Linked DNA regions of Homo sapiens: all the other regions are linked to region 1. Evidence: promoter capture Hi-C in 16 types of primary human blood cells and fetal thymus (Javierre and others, 2016). All regions are on one chromosome and are shown on one strand. Each heading gives the region's core, a stretch centred on a gene start or on the middle of the fragment in contact. The rest is flanking DNA. Distances are from core to core; before and after follow the strand shown. Region 1 holds the start of CCNA2 (cyclin A2). Region 2 overlaps MAD2L1 (mitotic arrest deficient 2 like 1). Region 3 overlaps MAD2L1-DT (MAD2L1 divergent transcript).

The links. The method cuts DNA at HindIII sites, captures the fragments that hold promoters and counts their contacts. A CHiCAGO score of 5 or more calls a contact.
Region 2: a contact is called between a fragment that was not itself captured here and the fragment with the promoter of CCNA2 in region 1, in 1 of 17 cell types (naive B cells). The highest score is 5.5, in naive B cells.
Region 3: a contact is called between a fragment that was not itself captured here and the fragment with the promoter of CCNA2 in region 1, in 1 of 17 cell types (total CD4 T cells). The highest score is 6.2, in total CD4 T cells.

The regions. Positions count from the first base shown.
Region 1 is chr4:121,821,333-121,825,790 of GRCh38, reverse strand. It overlaps CCNA2 (cyclin A2), which reads left to right and starts at 1,908. Exons shown (of 8, transcript NM_001237.5): 1 at 1,908-2,375; 2 at 3,145-3,388. The coding sequence starts at 2,163. It overlaps BBS7 (Bardet-Biedl syndrome 7), which reads left to right. Exons shown (of 19, transcript NM_176824.3): 19 at 1-1,462. RefSeq lists enhancers at 2,060-2,129, 2,320-2,369. The HindIII fragment of the contact is 5,182 bases long and covers 985-4,458 here.
Region 2 is chr4:120,052,939-120,057,396 of GRCh38, reverse strand. MAD2L1 (mitotic arrest deficient 2 like 1) reads left to right here. Exons shown (of 5, transcript NM_002358.4): 5 at 1-1,774. Among named protein-coding and RNA genes, the nearest start is that of MAD2L1, 12 kb to the left of the region's middle. The HindIII fragment of the contact is 355 bases long and covers 2,207-2,561 here.
Region 3 is chr4:120,076,632-120,081,089 of GRCh38, reverse strand. All of the region lies in intron 1 of MAD2L1-DT (MAD2L1 divergent transcript), which reads right to left. Among named protein-coding and RNA genes, the nearest start is that of MAD2L1-DT, 12 kb to the right of the region's middle. The HindIII fragment of the contact is 3,295 bases long and covers 314-3,608 here.

The DNA of each region.
Region 1 (4,458 bases), core at 659-3,158:
TTAACTGTGTATGTACTTTAATTTCAAATGCTTTTTTATATCTAAAAATATTTGAGATATAATGGCTTTTTAAAGTAATGCTTCTATTTCTTTTGACAAATTGAACTTTCTAAAACTAAAAGAGTCTTTTTATTTTTAAAACACAAGTAGAATGATTTAAATAGGATTTTAATGAATTTTTGGCAAGTGGCTGTTTTAATTTTTAAATTGAGAAGTAATATGTGGAAAATTAAAATATATTCAAATGTATTACAAGGTACATAAACACATAAACATGTAGACCGCTTTATAGGCTTCAAAATGTATTTTTATATATTACCTTATTTGATCTTCACAACTGTTGTAAAATTTGTCAAATCATATAAGAAAACTGATTCTCAGTGAAATTTTGTGATTAAGAGGACATGCTAATATTTTGTAAAGCTGGGACCAGAACCCAAGTACTGGTACTTGCTTTGTGTCCTGGTTACTATGTATGTTGCCAGCTAGTGGAAATAACCTACCAATTGTTTTTTCTAGGAGATAGGATTGATTTGCAACTGATATTCCTTTTGCTTGGTAGTGTTTTATGACTCTGCTGCAGTTTGTGGAAATGCTGGACTTGGCTCAGTGCTATAAATTGTAGCCAGGAAATAAGAAGAGCTTACACAGAGTCGGGGGATCTTAATTAGACATGCTGTAACCAGTGGAGCTATTCAGCGTGCTTCAAGTGAAGAGTGCAGAAATAGTGATGCCATCTTAGATTTTCCTACACTAGTATCTTCTAGATCTCTTTTTATCATATATGACATTAAGGCTACAGAAGTTTTGTGCATTAATCTTAATTCATATTTATTAATTTCAAGGGAATATTGAAAGGTTTTAAAATGGCATACAGATAATGGAAAATAAGCTTTATGTTTCAAGAAGGGCAGACTCACGAATTTTTTAGAAAACAGTGCTTCTTAATGATATGCTATTATACTTATTAGTTATGTGCAAGCTTTGTATATTCTTATATTTATATATAAATATAAAAATTTGTTAAAGGCACGTATAGTTAAGAGAGTTTTATTTTAATAAGGTCATATTGTTTTTACTATGTTTAAAAAACTTTACTTCTGAAAGGAACATAATTATATCTAGGTCACTAGAACGTCATTGTGTTTTTTGTTGGTTGCCACAGCTTGGGGAAAAATAGAAAAAAATTAATGACTGTATTTGAATATTTTGTAATGCACTGCTATTTATTATATATATCAACAGTAGTTCAAGGTGCCATCTTAAATTAATTGCATCTTCATTAGGAAAAATAAAAAGCATAAAACACAATTTCTGGTTACTATGAATAAACGCCTAAATGTTAAGATGACATTACAGTCTTGACACTTGAGTACTGTATTACTATGTGAGCTCCGTGTTAAATAATTTATGCACATTATTTAATCCTAACAACCATATGACTGTAGTTATTAGTCCCTATTAACACATAAGAAAACGGAGAATCGGAGATACTGAAAAACGTGCCCCAGATTTTAGACCTTTGGAAAAAGTCACTTAAGCTAACTAGACGTCCCAGAGCTAAAGGCTGGGCAACCCAAATGATAGTCGCCAAAGTTTAATTCCGTTTAATTCCCTAAAAGGCTTAGAGTCAGCCTTCGGACAGCCTCGCTCACTAGGTGGCTCAGCTTAAAATAATCGGAAGCGTCGGGCCCTAAATCCTACCTCTCCCCGCCCCGCGCAGGCGTTTTCTCCCGCCCCAGCCAGTTTGTTTCTCCCTCCTGCCCCGCCCCTGCTCAGTTTCCTTTGGTTTACCCTTCACTCGCCTGCGACCCTGTCGCCTTGAATGACGTCAAGGCCGCGAGCGCTTTCATTGGTCCATTTCAATAGTCGCGGGATACTTGAACTGCAAGAACAGCCGCCGCTCCGGCGGGCTGCTCGCTGCATCTCTGGGCGTCTTTGGCTCGCCACGCTGGGCAGTGCCTGCCTGCGCCTTTCGCAACCTCCTCGGCCCTGCGTGGTCTCGAGCTGGGTGAGCGAGCGGGCGGGCTGGTAGGCTGGCCTGGGCTGCGACCGGCGGCTACGACTATTCTTTGGCCGGGTCGGTGCGAGTGGTCGGCTGGGCAGAGTGCACGCTGCTTGGCGCCGCAGGCTGATCCCGCCGTCCACTCCCGGGAGCAGTGATGTTGGGCAACTCTGCGCCGGGGCCTGCGACCCGCGAGGCGGGCTCGGCGCTGCTAGCATTGCAGCAGACGGCGCTCCAAGAGGACCAGGAGAATATCAACCCGGAAAAGGCAGCGCCCGTCCAACAACCGCGGACCCGGGCCGCGCTGGCGGTACTGAAGTCCGGGAACCCGCGGGGTCTAGCGCAGCAGCAGAGGCCGAAGACGAGACGGGTAAAGGGATGCGGGATATCTGCAGGAGGGTGGGTCGAGCAGGGTTTGGCATTGGCTTAGCAGGCAGAGAAGAGTGGCGAGAAGGCATGTCCTGGGCTTTTGGAAGGGGGCCAGGGTCTGGAGTGCAGTTGGTGCTGGTGTGTGGTTTGCCACAGTAGGAGTTCTCCCATATTAGCATCAGGACCCCGCCAACACTGTGTGTATGCTGCCGGTCTGCTCTCTATAGGGGGCATCTGCCTGTACATAATGGGGTCAAACCAAGCTCTAAAACGTGTAGTCTTCGCTCAGCTCCGCGCCTTTCTCTCCACTTTTAAACCCCAGGCACTGCTGTAGGACTCTGACCCCTATCCTCCTCACGCTTAAGAGATGACCTCTACTTTAGAAAAGCGTGTACAAAATACTTTGCTTTTGGCAAATTCCGCCATTTTAGCCGGATTTGCTCTGTTGCTCCACCCTCGGGCGACAGTGGTGAACCAACAATTTTTTTGCTGTCTTTCCTAAACTTGTCACGTATTGGCCTGTCACCCGACCCTTCTTGTGGCCCTGATAAGTTTTGCATAATTCCACCTAGTGTTATCTATTGATAGCCTTTGTGGGAATGCCTGTGACAAATGGGAACATCCCTTCTCTTTTGAATACTGAAACTCTTCTTTGTCCCAGAAAGTTTAATTCCTGATAGAGTATTTGGGAGAAAAAGCAAAGGCCAACACCCATAAGAGAAAGAATGCAAGACTAGTAGGCTCAAAGCCAGTTATTAATTTTTTTTTAGGTTGCACCCCTTAAGGATCTTCCTGTAAATGATGAGCATGTCACCGTTCCTCCTTGGAAAGCAAACAGTAAACAGCCTGCGTTCACCATTCATGTGGATGAAGCAGAAAAAGAAGCTCAGAAGAAGCCAGCTGAATCTCAAAAAATAGAGCGTGAAGATGCCCTGGCTTTTAATTCAGCCATTAGTTTACCTGGACCCAGAAAACCATTGGTCCCTCTTGATTATCCAATGGATGGTAGTTTTGGTAAGTTTTAAGGAAAATCTGTGTGGAATTACGGTAATTATAATTATTAGATGATATTAATGATTTGCATTTTAAGATGTCTTATGTAGTCATTTTGACTATAGTGAGTTAGGTTTAATGTAACAAGGCTTAGAAAGGATGTGACTTATCTCAGATCTCACAGCTAACACTTGACTTGGTGACATACAAAAAGATCCTTATCCAGTGCTCTTTCAGGTTCACTGCCAGTCACATCAATCTAATTATAATTAGATCTTAAATGCTTATTTTAATCTGATCCCATAAATGTGTTCTTGGTTGGGAGAATAGATTTCAGTTTTATTTAACTCACTTATATATCACTTAGTGCTATTTGAAGATGCAGTCTTAAATATTGTGATTACATAACGTCTCTTCCAGTTTTATAATTTTGTTTCTATAAAACCAGTCTGGATTAGCATCTGATACCAGAAAGTGACACTTTTCCTCCTACAAGTAAATAGTTGTACCATGGCTGTTTACTCTTACCCATGTATTAAAGTAGCTTCTGTAAACAGCTCTTTGCAGTTTGTACTATTTCTTTGCCCTAGGGATATTGAGTCACTGGACAGCTCACTAAATCCAATCTCATTTTAGTTTTAGTTGTATTGATTGTGAGGAAGGAGGGGTGAGCAGGAAAAGTCCTTTGGAAATAATAATTTGTGTGTTTTTATCAAAATTTTGCAGAAAATGTTTAATCTCAAGGTGATCTTTGAAGTGAAAGGAATAATGGATGATACTCTTTGCTTCAAAATAATTTATACTACAAAAAATAAATTATTTATAGTGTTAATCCATTTGCCCATAACAAACCTAATTTCTTAATAACACTTGTTAATAGAGGCCATTTAACTGATGCTAGCTATTGCCTACTTGTGCTTTATATATGTCAGACTCTGGGATCTGCAGTTTCTCTTGGGACAAATCTTAGATATTATCTCAAAACTTGGATTTTAAAAGTGTTCTGTCCTAACAGAACCACCATGCCATTTGCTCCTTTCTGTTGTGGAAGATGGATACTTTAAGATAATACCTGATTCTCATTTTCCTGT
Region 2 (4,458 bases), core at 1,135-3,634, 1.8 Mb after region 1:
GACATTGGTTAGTCAGGACTCTGAAGGCCAGCTTTTTCACACTGACCAAAGCAAGTGAAGGTCAAGCCTAACTTTAATGGGACCAGGAAGTATACTCCTCCCATGGAGGTGGTGGGAATGGCACCGAGAAGTTTGATGACAGTTATCTAATGGACTAGAGGTTGGCAAACTTTCTGTAAATGGCCAGGTAGTAAATAGTTCTGCTTTTGAAGGCATATGGTCTCTTGCACCTACTCGAGGCTGAAAGCAGCTATAGACAATACATAAATGAATGAGCGTGAGTGTGTTCCAATAAGAAAAAAACATGGCTGTTTGCTTCGGCCCCAGGGTTGTAGCTTACCAGTCCTGTAACAGATCACAGTTTGCTCTTTTGGTCACAAATACTTGAACCCCTCCCTAGTTCAGAGCATTTGATACCGTAATATTTAAAGCTCACTTGTAAAACATCGTTTGTTGCCTCCATCCATAGTATCTCAAACAGAATGTCTCTCCCAAATATACCTAAATTCCATATTCTCTGAAGCACAACCAGCTATTTTCTTGACATACTTCCTAACACACCCCACAGTTCACAATTTGATCTGAAAACTTGTTAAGGGAGGTTCTTTGGCATGTGATGCCATAAAAAGAGAGGTATGGGCTCTCCTTTAAAAAAGAGACCCTTTTTATGAGACTCACAATAGGATAAAGAGCCCATGCCTATTTTTAATCATTTTTTCACTATATAGACATGCATGCTGAAAAATGTTTTTATTAGTATAATGCTAATTATACTGACTTCCTATATATTTTAGCATATAGATTCAAAGATTATTAGCACAATAAGGTAGATAACTTCATAGACCATTTCTTCATCTTGTTTTCATTTAGTATGTAAAATTTATCTAAAATTTACATGAAAGATCAGAATAGCTATGTAATGCTACTTTGTAACTCTTATATTTTCCACCAGATGTCACTAATGCTGTAATATTCAAATTAAGATGACTTTCTTTTGGTTCTAAAGGCTGTAAGCTTATTGGAAAAGCAAGGTTACTCAGCATTGGAATTCCTGGCAACAAATATATAAATACATTAGGGGAATAAACACTTAGCATTTATTATTTACTAGTCACTTCACATGAATTTTTATTTAATTCTCATGCTTTTGTGCACAAGTAAAACTGGGGGTCAATGGGCATGCAAATTGTGTCGTGGTTTTTGAAGTTTAGTGGTCTCTCCTATCCCTGGCCAAGGAAGTATGCAAATTGTATTGTGGTTTTTGAAGTTTAGGTGATCTCTTCCTTCTATCCCTAGCCAAGGAAGTTCATCCTGACTCCCCAACAAGCATATCAAAAGGAGTGTTTCGTCACCTTTTTCCTCTTACCCTTTACATCCTTTTAGCAATAAAGTGTTCAGAACAAACTGGTTTTCCTTTACTGTGCTTTGCAAAACTTATTCATGTTTTATTGGGTGACTTTGTATTTACACTTTCCTCAGATAGTCTGTTGTCAGATGACTTTGACCAATGATTGGGAGGAACCAAATACAGAGGATTTTATCCTATGCCTAATCTATATTGTCTACAGAGTAAATCAGGTATGAATTTGTGAACAGTAATGAAACAATTTTCCAACTAATCAGAAGAATTGTTTGTTAAGTAACCTTAATTACTCAGTTTTTGGTGAATTGTTTGCGGCTTAACTTGTAAATAATTTCTTATTCTTTTTTTAAATGTATGAAATATTTCTAGTTATTTTGTTCAATGTGACTGATAAAAGTTTATATTGGAATAGCTGTGAAATGGAAACTGTCTACTCAATTTTAAATTTTATTAGTTATATATTTTTAAAAATAGATCTTTTAGAGATATTTCCATTCTTCATAATTATGACTTTTAAAGCCAGCAGTATTCACTGAGGCTAAAAAAAAAAAAAAAAACAAACGTAGTTGGGCAAGCTACTTAATCTTCATTAGAGTTGACAATTCTGTTCCAATCTGGCAAAAACATTGTAGCCCTAGCAACAAGACTATTAGAAAAGGCCTAGAGTGAAAAATGTCAGAGTTGACCCTCTGATTACACAAGTTGGTTTATGTTACCATGTCACCTATTTTTGTCCTCCACCATGTGATCTATTTTTATACCAGAGAAACATAATATAGTTACATTTACTTGTACAAAGCCCATTTCATCTACATTTATCTGCACCATTTTGCTATGCAAGCTTGTTTGCACAAAGGAACTTACATGAGATCAAAATCTTATTTTCTTGGAATTTTATCTGTGTGGAAAAAGGCATCCCAAATATAAGCTGGACCACCCATAGTCCATTTCCTTGCAAGGGAAAGAGTCCAAACACTTTAAAAAACTTTCTAGATATGGACATATCTAGTGGATGCCTAGACATGGATATGAATTTCTTTCTGAAATGGCAGTCTCACTGACCAAGTACAGATGCTAGTGGTTTTAAAGATTGGGTCTGTGATGTGCAAAATATTTCATATCTAACATGCAGTTATTGGATCACTGTGTTCACACTCATAAGAGTCAGTACAGCTCTTTAAAAACAGGCTGTAAAGCTTACAGCCTCCAAGTCTAGGAAAGGAAATTCATGGGTATTGATCATCTACTGTATGCCAGGCACCACTGAAGTGCTTTACATCTGTTCAGCTGACTCCTAAATGAATGGAGGTTGGGGTTAGTGGGGAAATGGAAGACTTGGGCCACAAGCTGTGGTCTTAGAAACTGATGATGGGACATGGGGAGAGCCATGAGATAAAGGAAATTAAGTCTGAGTTCCAAATGAGGAGTCCTCTGGAGCAAGGAACAGCCCCCAAACCTCAATTTAGGGCTGTGAGGGAGAAGAGGGTGGGGAGAGAAGGACTGCATCCAAAATGGAAATTCTACAACTCCGCTGATGCCTCCATCGCCCCAGAGGAGACCCATAAAGCAAAACCATGAAGAAACACTGGGGAGTCTGAATCCTTTATAGAACATCTTTAGCTCAGTTTGTGGGCAGGGAAGGGATCAGTCTTCAAATTCATTCATTACATGCATTATCTCAATCCTTGCAACAACCCTGTGAGAATTGATATCCCCACTTTATAGATTTAAGAACTAAGATTCAGGAAGGTTAAGTAATTTGCCCAACTGCAAACATCCAGAATCCATGTGCTGGCCCAATTCCCAAACCAATAGGAACCAAATCCTTTTATTATATCTTGTTTCCTCTCAGAGTCTAGGGGACAGAGGAGGGTTCTCCTGCTCCAGACTTAGCTACAAAAAGACTAGAATACCGTGTGAATCTCACTCCAAATTGAGGAAGTAAGAACTTGTAGTCAAAATATTTGAATATTGCATTAACTTTTCATAATACTGCCATTAAATGTTCACACAGGGCATTTTGCTTTAAAACAGGAGCATTCATTTTCTTTCCAGCAACATTTCTTCTCTAATTCTTTCACTTGTTTTTGTAACCAAAGGTGTGTTGGAATTTGTGTTTAACATGTAATCCTGATCCTTCTACTTTGTGAGTTTTAACCAACTTGAGACATAGATGCAGGAAACAGAAGAAGATTGAAATTTATTATATGTATTATTACCCAAATTACAGCACTCTATAGTAAAGCTGGATTGGAGAATGAGCCTTACACTTAAGTCAGAAATAGGGTTTGCTACTCCTTCTTAAGTGAACCAAGCAGCCTGTGTAGTCACAGGTGGAAGGGCCAGACAACTTCATTCTTCCTTCTCCAGCCCAACTCCAACCTAGGAGGAAGCCTTGCATGCTGAATTGCCAAGGGCAAAATTAGAAAGCACTGTACTCGAGCTGCTACAAGCCATGGAAAAATTTCTTCTTTGCTGCTTGGGATGGGCTGAGAGAAAAAGTGGAGAGAGGGCCCCAGAACGTTACTCCAGTGCTGTTTTCTGTCATCAGGATTGGAACAGAAACCCTAAGAGTGGAGTAACAAGCATCCCTCCTGCTATTTGCCAGCTTTTTCATCTCTTGGTATATTACAGTGTGTGTTCCACTGGCATTATGTAAGTTGATTTTAGGTAGCATGATGACAGGCATTTTTTTAAAAAGTTTTAGTAATATATATGTTGTAATCAGAAAAATATGTAACATTGTTTATCATGAGTAAAAAATTGAGCGAAAGATTTTAAAAGTATACACAATATTTAAGGAAAAATATTATATCAGTATTAGTGTGAGCGATATGCAGACACGAAGGCCACATATGAAGGAAGGCTGGGAAACAATGTCATAACCCACTGGACTTAAGCAACTTGGAAGTAAGCCAGGGTGGGCTGTTCCTCTCAGCAGGGAAGTTGCTTGCTCACAGGGCCGTCATGTTCTCACTTTCCTAAACCCTCCTTCTTTCCACACTAATTCCCTCCAGAGCTGCCAATGGGCATTTCGCTTTTTGCCAACAAAAGTCTCTAGCAACATGAGTCAGACAGAACTGCATGCAGCACCC
Region 3 (4,458 bases), core at 712-3,211, 1.7 Mb after region 1:
GAAAAACAATTTATCCAGATAGAAATAAGCACTAATATTTTGATATTTTAAGAAAAGCACCAAGATCAAACTAATACATAAGTTTCTGACCTTAATTTTAAAGACTTTCAAATTTAATTAAAATTGAGTGAAAACTTAGTAAAATGGTAAGAAACTTATAGGGTTACAAGTGCTACTATCCTTATCTTCCACTCACAAATACAACCACACTGAATTTAATATGCTCACCGGTTAGTCATAATACCAAAAAAATCAGAAATCTTATTGAGCTTATGTAATAGGATAGCATAAAACATTAATAACCATTAAAGCTTAGCAAATATTATGGAATATATCAGTAACATTAGGAAATGAATGACACACAGCATCATCATTTTATTGGAATTCCCTATTGTGAAGCTGAAGTGTGCAGGTCTACTCTGAATAAATTCAGAACAGAAAACAGGAAAAGTTCATACAAAAAAAGAGCACAGAAAAACAGAGGAGGTCAAGAAAGGACCGGAGCTAAAGAGAAGACTGAAAATTTGGCAGAATTAAAGGACTAAAAATCATCAGATATGGAAGATGGATAAAAAGGTGAAATTAATGAATCTATGATAATGAGGCAAAACCAGAGATTTTCCTGGCAATTATAGCACTTACTGGAATTTAAATAGTGAAGATAATTAAAATAGTGAAGTCTTAAGTGCCTCGACCTGGACTGTCACTATAGCTTTCCAATCTGTACTTCACCTGTGCTACAGTAACGTTACTAAAACACAACTTTATATTGTCCCCAATATAATTCTATAAAAACTTTTAGTGTCTCTCTAACGTCTCCTGAGAAAAGTCCAAACTTTTAGCCTGTCACACAAGGCTCTCTAGAAAAAGAACCCAGATGTAATCTGATCACATGAAGACTCTGTCCTGGGGAAAAGTGAGCTAATTTGATGCTTCCATATTTTGTCCCATAGATTTTTAAGTTCTGTGCCTGTGACGTCCTCTCTCTACACATCTATACCTATAAAGGTTTTTATCCCCACCTTTACTTTATGGTCCAGACTGGACTTTAATCATCTCCGTTAAACCTCTAATTGACACCCATCTTTGCCTGCCTAAGTTCTAAGCACTCTTCAAGTTCTAAGTACTCTTCAAAATGTTTATAACATATACTATACCTAACACTGTGGAAAATGTTTATAACTCTTCAAGTTTTACATCCTCCAAGAATATTTCTTTTGCTATCTTTGAATTTGTTTGGCAATTACTGCATACATTCAATTGTTTCTCATCCTGTACCTTCTTATGTGCAGCTATTTTTGTGTAATAATTCCCCAACTAGATTCCCAGCTAGATTTTTCCTCTTGCATCCATACAGCACCGCACTGTAAGATAAATAGTACTCAATAAATATCTATTTAGGAAAACAAATATCCATTTATTTCTCCTTCATTGACTTATCATCCCACTCCTCATAATGGCTGCTTTAAAAATCTTTCCAACTCTTGGCGTGGCGCAGTGGCTCACCCCTGTAATCCCAGCACTTTGGGAGGCCAAGGCGGGCGGATCATGAGGTCAGGAGATCGAGACCATCCTGGCTAACACAGTGAAACCCCGTCTCTACTAAAAAACACAAAAAATTAGCCTGGCGTGGTGGCGGGCTCCTCTAGTCCCAGCTACTCGGGAGGCTGAGGCAGGAGAATGGCATGAACTCGGGAGACGGAGCTTGCAGAGAGCCGAGATCGCGCCACTACACTCTAGCCTAGGCGACAGAGCAAGACCCTGTCTCAAAAAAAAAAAAAAAAAAAAATTTCCAACTCTTTTCACTTATGTGACATTATCTTTCCCTTCCTCCACTTCCCTATCTCACCTCCTCCTCCACTGAGAAGCTAAAGATTATTCTTTACTTGCATTTCAAGAAAAAATGAGAATTTATCTGCATCCTCACATCTCCCTTCTTCCTTGTTTTCAATTTCTAAGAGGGAATTGTCTCTTCTGTTTATTCTCTACTTGGGTCCTTGATGCCATTGCTTTCTGTGGCCTCAGGTGTCTGGCTCTATTAGTTAGGCCTTTCCAACTTTCAACTTCAGTATTTATATTTCTTTTGCTCTCTTTCCTCTAAATATCCTAAACATAAAATTCCCAAGATCCAGCAATTGCTTATGTGGTTTCTCCACTCTCCATTTCTCTTGCAAACCTTTTACTTCTATCTTCTTAGCCTTACTTCCAAACTCCTTGTAAAAGACTTTTATACCCTACCGTGTGACCCAAATTGTCTCCTCTTAGTTCACCAAAAATCTTTCAAGTACAAAATCTGTGACTCTTCCTCAGTCATTCTTATTTGTGCTGAATTATTTACTAAACTACTAAAATAGTATTTTTCTACCTAATCCAAATTCACTAAATAGGTTCTGACATTCCTCTCACAATTTGCCTCCTACTTTTCCATTTCTTCTGAGTTTCCTTCACTGCCTCTTCTTCCTCAATGTGTCATTTTATTAGCTATTACCTCAAAAAAAATTTTTTTTTTTTGCCTGGCCTAAAACCACTTGAAGGAAAATGAATCGAATGCCACAAACTTATCTATATCATCTCCATGTATAACAGCTCCACACCATGATCCCCCAAAACCCAGGCTGTTCTTCAGAGTACAACCAAACACATCTCAACACATTTTTAAAATGTCTCTCAAATTTGTCATCTTTTTACATTCCTGCTGTATTGCATATTCTCATTTCCTTTTGTCTGAGCTATCAATAAAATTGGCAGGACAAAGAGTAGGCTATTTCAAATGCCATTCTATCCCTTGGCCAGAATATTTGTTTAATGCCTCCTCTTAGTTCACTGAAGATCTTTTAAGTAGAAAATTGACAAGATCTTTTAAGCACAAAATTTTTAAAAAATTCCTGTTTTTGCAGCCCTAGTCAGGGTACCCCTTTTGGCCATCCACTCTTAGCCAGATGAGCCAGTATTGCACCCTGGATCCTACCTCTTGTTTCTTTTCCTCCAGTTTTGGACTCTTTTCTTCCACTTTTGGATTATTTTCCTTGTTCCAATTCTGTGACTTTCCAGCCATTCAGCTCCATTGGTTTCCATTGCTGAATGGGTCTCAGGAGTTACATAGCAAGGATGGAGGAATATTAAGGACCCACTATAGTTTGCCTCAAATTAGAGTTATCTAAAATATAGTCAGATCTTTGATGCTTTCAGGATTCATATTCTGGTACCATCTAGATTGCTTGGATTTGACTCCAGTTCTCCTAGCTGGGTGACCTTAGCTAAATTATTCAACTTCCTTCTGTAACTTAATTCAGGTAATAGTAGTATCTAACTCTTGAGCTAATGAGGGATTAAATAAAATGATTCTTGTAAAGCACATAGAAATGTGCCTGGCAGATAGTATGTGGTTAATAATGTTGGCTATCATTATTATATATGTTATAAGAGTTTCTATCTCATCTGTGCCTTAAGTTGTATTATCTAAAGCCTCCTTTAGTTATGCTAAACTAAACATGTACCAACCCAGGAAAGGTGCGTGGAAAAGTGGTGAAAAGCTGTCTTATTAACAACAACAGTAACAATATAATAATAAAACAATAACAATAACATATTAGCATTAAGCCAAAGCTTCATTTAAATTATCTCATGTAATACTCAGAAAAATTATATGTGACAAGTACTATTGTTACATCCATTTTACCGATAAGGAAAATAACTCCTATATAATTCTTCTTAAATTGTCCAGATAGTCTGCTTCTAAGAAGTTTCTCTGGAACATGCTAGGCTAACATCTTTTTTTGACATATCTGCATGTGATCTCTGCTGTTGGTAGATTGCTTGGAGATTCCTGCTTCTTTTAGACAAGACCATGACACTCCCTCATTATGCAACCAGTAATAAAGTTTTTTTTTTTTATGTGATCTAAGTGGACTTTTATGACAGGATTTGTTGAAACCCCTAAGATGGCTTTTATTCTGTGCTTTGGGCAGTGGTAAATAGATGGGGTTCAAGAGTCTGGAGCACTCCTTCCCAATAAGAATGTATTTTCCTTACAGGATTGTTCTGCAAAGTCCATTATAAAGAATGATAGCTCACGCCGGGCATGGCGGCTCACACTTGTAATCCCAGCACTTTGGGAGGTCAAGGTGGGTGAATCACTTGAGGCCAGGAGTGCAAGACCATCGAAACCTTGTCTCCACTAAAAAATACAACAATTAGCTGGGTGTGATGGTGCATGCATGTAATCCCAGCTACACAGGAGGCTGAGGAATAAGGATCACTTGAACCTGAGAGGCGATGATTGCAGTGAGCTGAGATGGTGCCACCACGCTCCAGCCTGGGTGAAAGAGCAAGACTCTGTCTCAGAAAAAAAAAAAAAAAAAAAAGAATGATACTTCAAATTTCCACATAGGCATGCAGGTCAGCCATCCTAACTAGGTCTATTCCATATTTACCTAGAAGAGAGGACAAGCACGGAAC